2 separate regions of the Homo sapiens genome follow, and region 1 is linked to region 2. Evidence: promoter capture Hi-C in 16 types of primary human blood cells and fetal thymus (Javierre and others, 2016). All regions are on one chromosome and are shown on one strand. Each heading gives the region's core, a stretch centred on a gene start or on the middle of the fragment in contact. The rest is flanking DNA. Distances are from core to core; before and after follow the strand shown. Region 1 overlaps TNIK (TRAF2 and NCK interacting kinase). Region 2 holds the start of ACTRT3 (actin related protein T3).

The links. Contacts are between HindIII fragments. The CHiCAGO score rates a contact against its expected background, and 5 or more counts as called.
Region 1: a contact is called between a fragment that was not itself captured here and the fragment with the promoter of ACTRT3 in region 2, in 1 of 17 cell types (total CD4 T cells). The highest score is 5.4, in total CD4 T cells.

The regions. Positions count from the first base shown.
Region 1 is chr3:171,247,266-171,250,586 of GRCh38, reverse strand. All of the region lies in intron 2 of TNIK (TRAF2 and NCK interacting kinase), which reads left to right. Among named protein-coding and RNA genes, the nearest start is that of MIR569, 140 kb to the right of the region's middle. The HindIII fragment of the contact is 2,145 bases long and covers 373-2,517 here.
Region 2 is chr3:169,767,863-169,771,172 of GRCh38, reverse strand. ACTRT3 (actin related protein T3) reads left to right here and starts at 1,612. Exons shown (of 2, transcript NM_032487.5): 1 at 1,612-1,852; 2 at 2,823-3,310. The coding sequence starts at 1,653. RefSeq lists cis regulatory regions at 1,460, 2,817, enhancers at 1,388-1,532, 1,624-1,883, 2,745-2,889 and a silencer at 1,474-1,543. The HindIII fragment of the contact is 4,942 bases long and covers 1-3,310 here.

The DNA of each region.
Region 1 (3,321 bases), core at 196-2,695, 1.5 Mb before region 2:
TTCCTACTTTTCTCTGAGCTAGCTGCATGGCTTTAGAGAAGTAGGATGGAAGGGGTTAATATCAGTGGACATGAATGTCTCTAATATTCTTCATTTCTAATTTTTTAAGTCTATCAGGTTTGGACACGAAATTTTTAAAGGGCATGATTTAGATTTCTAGGAATCCCTGTTTCTGAATATTTTGGGGGACTAGGGCTTAGGTTACATCTTGGAATTTTTAAGGTACTGGAGCTATTTAACCCAAATCTCACTACCACAAAGAAGCTGTCCATCCATCAACACCATTTTCCCAGGCAAACAAGACTGGGTCAGTCTCTCCAAGGCCTGTCCCATGAAAATTAGAGGGTGCTGGCATTACCAGAAAGCAAAGCTTCCATCCAGGTATGGATGAGCTACTTCTGAGAAGGGAGTAATCAGTATGGACTGAAGTAAATGGGAATTCTTCCTGAACATGTGCCATCAAGCTATAGAGCAGAAGTTGGGTGAAATTTGAAAGGCGGAGTAACAAAGGCAGAAGCATGCAGGCATCGCTAAGAGCTTGGCCTTACCAGCTGGCTGACTTTGGGACTGTGCTTTGCTCTCTTCATTAGTATAATGGGGGTGGTAGTAGCACCTACTTCACATGGGCAATGTGGGGATTAAATAGTAATCATGTAAAACCTTAGCCTGACAAGTTGATATACAGTAAAAGCAAACTATTAGTTACTAGCTCAGTAAGAAACCAGGATAGCTAGGAACAGTTAGGGAGTCTAGGTAGGTTGGGTTGGGTGGGTTGGATTGGTTCCAACTGACAGGGAAAGACGCTACTTGCCTCAAGAGTGGATGAAATAAATAGCTATGGAATAACTGTATATGCTTTCCTGCAGGCTCCTCACTTAATATATATCGTACAAGACAGTAATAGCTAATATCATAGGCAGCAAATTTGACATTTGTTCATTTGTCTTTTTGTAATGAATTATTTGAGGTGAATTATGCTGATGTGTACCACCATCATTCCATTTGAATATGTGTCTTAATGTATAATGTCCTAAGGGCTGCCCAGGACTGGTGAGCAGTAACTCACTGCAGGAGGCCCCTAATTTGCCATTTCCACACCACTGCCCCATCCCTCCAGCCCCCTTAAGTTGGCAGCAGGCCACTCTGTCTTGTCTAGTAATGGTGATGGAGAGCCTGAGTGATTCTTAATCAAAGAAAATGACAACTCCATTTACATTTGTACAGATCTGATATTCACATTTGGATGTATGCCTAAAGGTACCTGGGTTGAAAATATGTGGTGTAACATTGCTTTATCTTCCTAAATCATCCTGACACAGCCTTGGACTTAATAGGGAGTGGGACCCAGAATTATGAAATAATAGCAGACATGCCACTGGAGGCTGAAATTTATGTTTTATGAGATAAAGTGGTTCTTAACTATTTTTGTTGCCATGTTCAATAGCTAGTTACTTTTAATGTTTCTATAATAAGAAAACAGTATGCAAAGATACACTTTAACAGAATTTCATAAGCTCCTACACTATGGGTAATAACCAGAGTTCTGAAAATAAAACCGTTACTTTCACTTGCATTTTAAGTCAGATTGATAGCTTTCTTTCATTTATAACGTCGTCCTAGTCTGAAAGCAAAATCACCATTTTATTATTTCTTATTCAAAGGCTGAAAGAAAAAGGTACCAAGTAAAATGATTTTGTATGACAAGGTCAATAAGACTTGGCAGCAAAGACTTGGATTGAAACTTTAGCCTTGCCATTAACCAGCTGTGATGTTGAATAAGTCATCTAGTCCTTGTCTCACTTGTAAAATGGTATAATATTGATACTATAGTTATATTGCTATTACCTGGAATGACACCCCACTCTTATTATTCACAACCTGGACTTTTTATGACCCAGGTCTGTTTTGCTTTTAAAATCTTAAATGTACAGCATCCCAATCTTAGACCACAGCCTTTGATGCTTCCAGCCTGTACTCCCTCACACCCTACACACCTGTTCTTTGATGTTGACTAAGCCCTCGGGTCTTTTGTCAGTCTCTCAGTCCCCATGAAACTTTAATAACTTGTCTCTCCAGCCTTGGGCCTCATGATTTCTTAGTTTAATCATTTTTAGCCAACATGTACTATCTCCTTTATCCTTTGTTCTTCCATAATATCCACCTTGCAGACCCCTTCCCTAAGGTCAGTCTAGCTGTTTATTTTTCTGCATTTGGGCTGCACAGCTCAACTCAGCACTGCTTAATAATCAACTGTGTATGTACCTGCTCAGTTCCTTCTCCTGTTTTCCCTGGAATAGTTGCTCCCAATCTCCACCACTCTCCTCTCCTCCCTTCCGCTGCCCCTGCCTTCATTGTTCTCCACAGGTGACCTTCTTCTATGCCTTTTAGAAAAACTGGAGCCATTGGACAGGTATCCCTTATTGGGTAAATATCCCACAGGTCTCCCTCTGCCTTTCTTCTCAAACTCATCTTCTTCCCACATTCTTACCTTCTTTCATCCTAACTCAATGTAAAGCTTTTCCCTCTGTGTGAGAGGACTCCTCCTGCTGTTTCTGTTGTCTCCTCCCTTGCCCAGAATTGCCCCTTTCCTCCCAGCCTGCAGTCATCTTCAGCGAGACCTCAGGACTAGTTTCATCTCTTTTCAGACCAAGCAACTTTTTTCTACCCTCTTTGCCTCCACATAGTCACCTCCCATTTTTTCCTTCACTCTATACAAACTGATGTCTGTCCCTGCATTGCTGTGTAAGGTCCCAGGGGCTTCATAATTGCCAGATTGAATGAGCTCTTTTTAGTCTTTATTTCACTTGGTCTTCTGTAGCACTGGCTCTGACCATACCCTCCTTTTTGAAACTCATCACATCCTCCTTCCTGAAACTTTCTCTTTCCTTGATTTGCAGTCATATTGCTGCTTTCTTTTTTCCCACCCGCTGGTTGTTTTTTCTTGGGGTTCATTGCAAGTCCTTCTGTCTCTGTAGACTGACTTGACCTCCTGAAGCCCAGTCTTCTCCACTGGACTAATGGACACATCTGTCTGGATGTCTACCCGGCCCCCGAAAACCTTGTTATGTCCTTGACTGAAGTCACTTCCTGCCTTCTTCATGTTTTCCCGAGTCTTCTGTCTCAAAGAATGGCACTCTTACCCACCTAGATTGTACAAGCCAGAGATGTTATCTTCCTGGAGGACTTCTGTTTCTCTTTCAATTCTCCAAAACACCATCTACATGTCCTGTTGATTCTACTTATTTATTCTTTGGATCTATTCTCTTTTCACTGCCAGCCTTTGTTTCAGATCCTGACTGGATTAATCATCTCCAAATCTTG
Region 2 (3,310 bases), core at 363-2,862:
ATGATATATAAATATAATTTTTTATATATTTATGATATATAAATATAAATTTTTATATATTTATGATATATAAATATAAATTTTTATATATTTATGATATATAAATATAAATTTTTATATATTTATGATATATAAATATAAATTTTTATATATTTATGATATATAAATATAAATTTTTATATATTTATGATATATAAATATAAATTTTTATATATTTATGATATATAAATATAAATTTTTATTTATGATATCTAAATATAAATTTTTATTTATGATATCTAAATATAAATTTTTATTTATGATATCTAAATATAAATTTTTATTTATGATATCTAAATATAAATTTTTATTTATGATATCTAAATATAAATTTTTATATATGATATCTAAATATAAATTTTTATATATGATATCTAAATATAAATTTTTATATATGATATCTAAATATAAATTTTTATATATGATATCTAAATATAAATTTTTATATATGATATCTAAATATAAATTTTTATATATGATATATAAATATAAATTTTTATATATGATATATAAATATAAATTTTTATATATTTATGATATATAAATATAAATTTTTATATATTTATGATATATAAATATAAATTTTTATATATTTATATTTATGATATATAAATATAAATTTTTATATATTTATATTTATGATATATAAATATAAATTTTTATATATTTATATTTATGATATATAAATATAAATTTTTATATATTTATATTTATACATATAATAAATATAAATATAAATTTTTATATATTTATATTTATACATATAATAAATATAAATATATATATTTCGATTTATATCCTTGCTTAAATATATAAATATATATTTTATAAATATATAAATATATTTATATAATATAACATATATTTATATAAATTATATAAATTTATATATTTTTTAATATTTTATATTTAAATTTATATATATTTATATAAATATATATAAATTTATATTTATTTACATATTTAAGCTAGGAACTACTATTTTGTTTTAATTGCGTACATTTTGCTTGGAAATCACAGGAAGAAACACAACAAAGCATTGCCCAAGGTACAGAAACAATAATAAACGTACTTAAAACTCATTTAAATTCCAGCATTTTTCTCCTTATTTTAGAAGTTTAACATTTCAGAAGCAGACACTGCCTCCCTTCCTGCAACAACTTTCTCCTCTTAAGTCTCATTTTTCCCCAGTTTCAAGGGCGAATTCTAGAACTCCCCGGAACCGCCACCAGTTAACCAGAATTCCGTGGCTTTGGAAAATAAAACTGCTGTTATAGCTCTTCTGGGTATTTGAGAAATGCACTTGTGAAGGGTTAGAGTTGAATCTTTTGATGCGAAAGTCGGGTTTTCCTGATACTGGGATTCCGGGATTCCAGGTGTTGGGGTGGCCCAATTCCTGCGAGAAGCAATAGCGGGCGGTAACATGAGGAGCACGGTGCGTCCAGCGAGTCCTTCCGCCTGGGGCCCTGCCGACCCCCTGCCTGCGCCCCCAGGACTCTGGCCTCACCCGGCCGTGCCGGGGCCTCTGTGACGCGGCGTTCCAGGCACTCGGCCCCGGCCGAGCCCGTAGCTAGAGCGGCTCAGAGACAGGAGGCGGCGGCAGCAGCGGCGGCATGAACCACTGCCAGCTACCGGTGGTGATCGACAACGGCTCGGGAATGATCAAGGCGGGCGTGGCTGGGTGCCGGGAGCCCCAGTTTATCTACCCGAACATTATCGGCCGCGCCAAGGGCCAGAGCCGCGCGGCCCAGGGCGGGCTAGAACTCTGCGTGGGCGACCAAGCTCAGGACTGGAGGAGCTCGCTGTTCATCAGGTACCTCCTTCTCCCAGCAGGCTGCTGGGGCTGGGGAGGGTGGGTGGGGTGGGGGTGGGGTAGGGTGGGGCTGGGGAGGTTGGGGGGTGGGGCTGGGGTGGCTGGGGGTGGGGGGACTGGGGGTGTTGTCGGGGGGCAGGAAAGGACCCCAAAGGAGGTGCGCAATGGGGACAGAAAGAATAAGAAAGCCGGGAGCTGGAAAGCCCCATCCAGCTGGAATTACTACAAACGCACGGGCCACAAATCTCCAAGGGTACCACACATCTAAAAACTGAACATTTTGCTCTCTGTGGCTATACAAATGTATTAAAACGTATAAAGTTATCGAACGAATTCATTTAAGAATATTAACTCATGGTCCCTTTTGTCACTTGGGTTATTCTCTTCAATTGACATTTAAACTATACTATAATGTGGACATTTCCCAATTTTTTAAAAGTCACAAGGTTCCAAAGGACAGAGAAAATGGAAAGCAACAAAAATCGCAGAGGTAGGCCGGGCGCGGTGGCTCACGCCTGTAATCCTAGCACTTTGGGAGGCCGAGCAGGGCGGATCACGAGGTCAGGAGTTCGAGACCATCGTGGCTAACACGGTGAAACCCCGTCTCTACTAAAAATACAAAAAAATTAGCCGGGCGTGGTGGCGCGCGCCTGTAGTCCCAGCTACTCAGGAGACTGAGGCAGGAGAATGGCGTGAACCCGGGAGGCGGAGCTTGCAGTGAGCTGAGATCGCGCCACTGCACTCCAGCCTGGGTGACAGAGCGAGACTCTGTCTCCAAAAAAAAAAAAAAAAATTGCAGAGGTAAGTAGCTGTGCTATTTTTGGCTGACACTTACCTGCTGTGAGAGGCTGTGGCAGTTATTGCCCATAAAGGGATATTGGTAATAAACGCGGGGAATTAACTGAGGGTCGAAGACAATAGAAACTAGAAAAATAAAAAGCTGTCATTGATCTTATTGCTTTCCTTACAGTTACCCAGTGGAGCGTGGTCTCATTACTTCATGGGAGGACATGGAGATCATGTGGAAGCATATCTATGACTATAACCTAAAGCTGAAGCCGTGTGATGGCCCAGTCTTGATTACTGAGCCAGCGCTGAACCCACTGGCCAACCGGCAACAGATCACGGAAATGTTTTTTGAGCATCTGGGTGTTCCTGCCTTCTATATGTCCATCCAGGCTGTGCTGGCTCTCTTTGCTGCTGGCTTCACTACTGGCCTTGTGCTGAATTCAGGTGCTGGGGTTACCCAGAGTGTGCCCATCTTTGAGGGTTACTGTCTGCCTCATGGTGTGCAGCAACTGGATCTGGCAGGCCTTGACCTCACCAACTACCTCATGGTGCTAATGAAGAACCATGGTATCATGTTGCTCAGTGCTTCAGACAGAAAGATTGTTGAAGACATCAAGGAGAGCTTTTGTTATGTGGCAATGAACTACGAAGAGGAAATGGCCAAGAAAC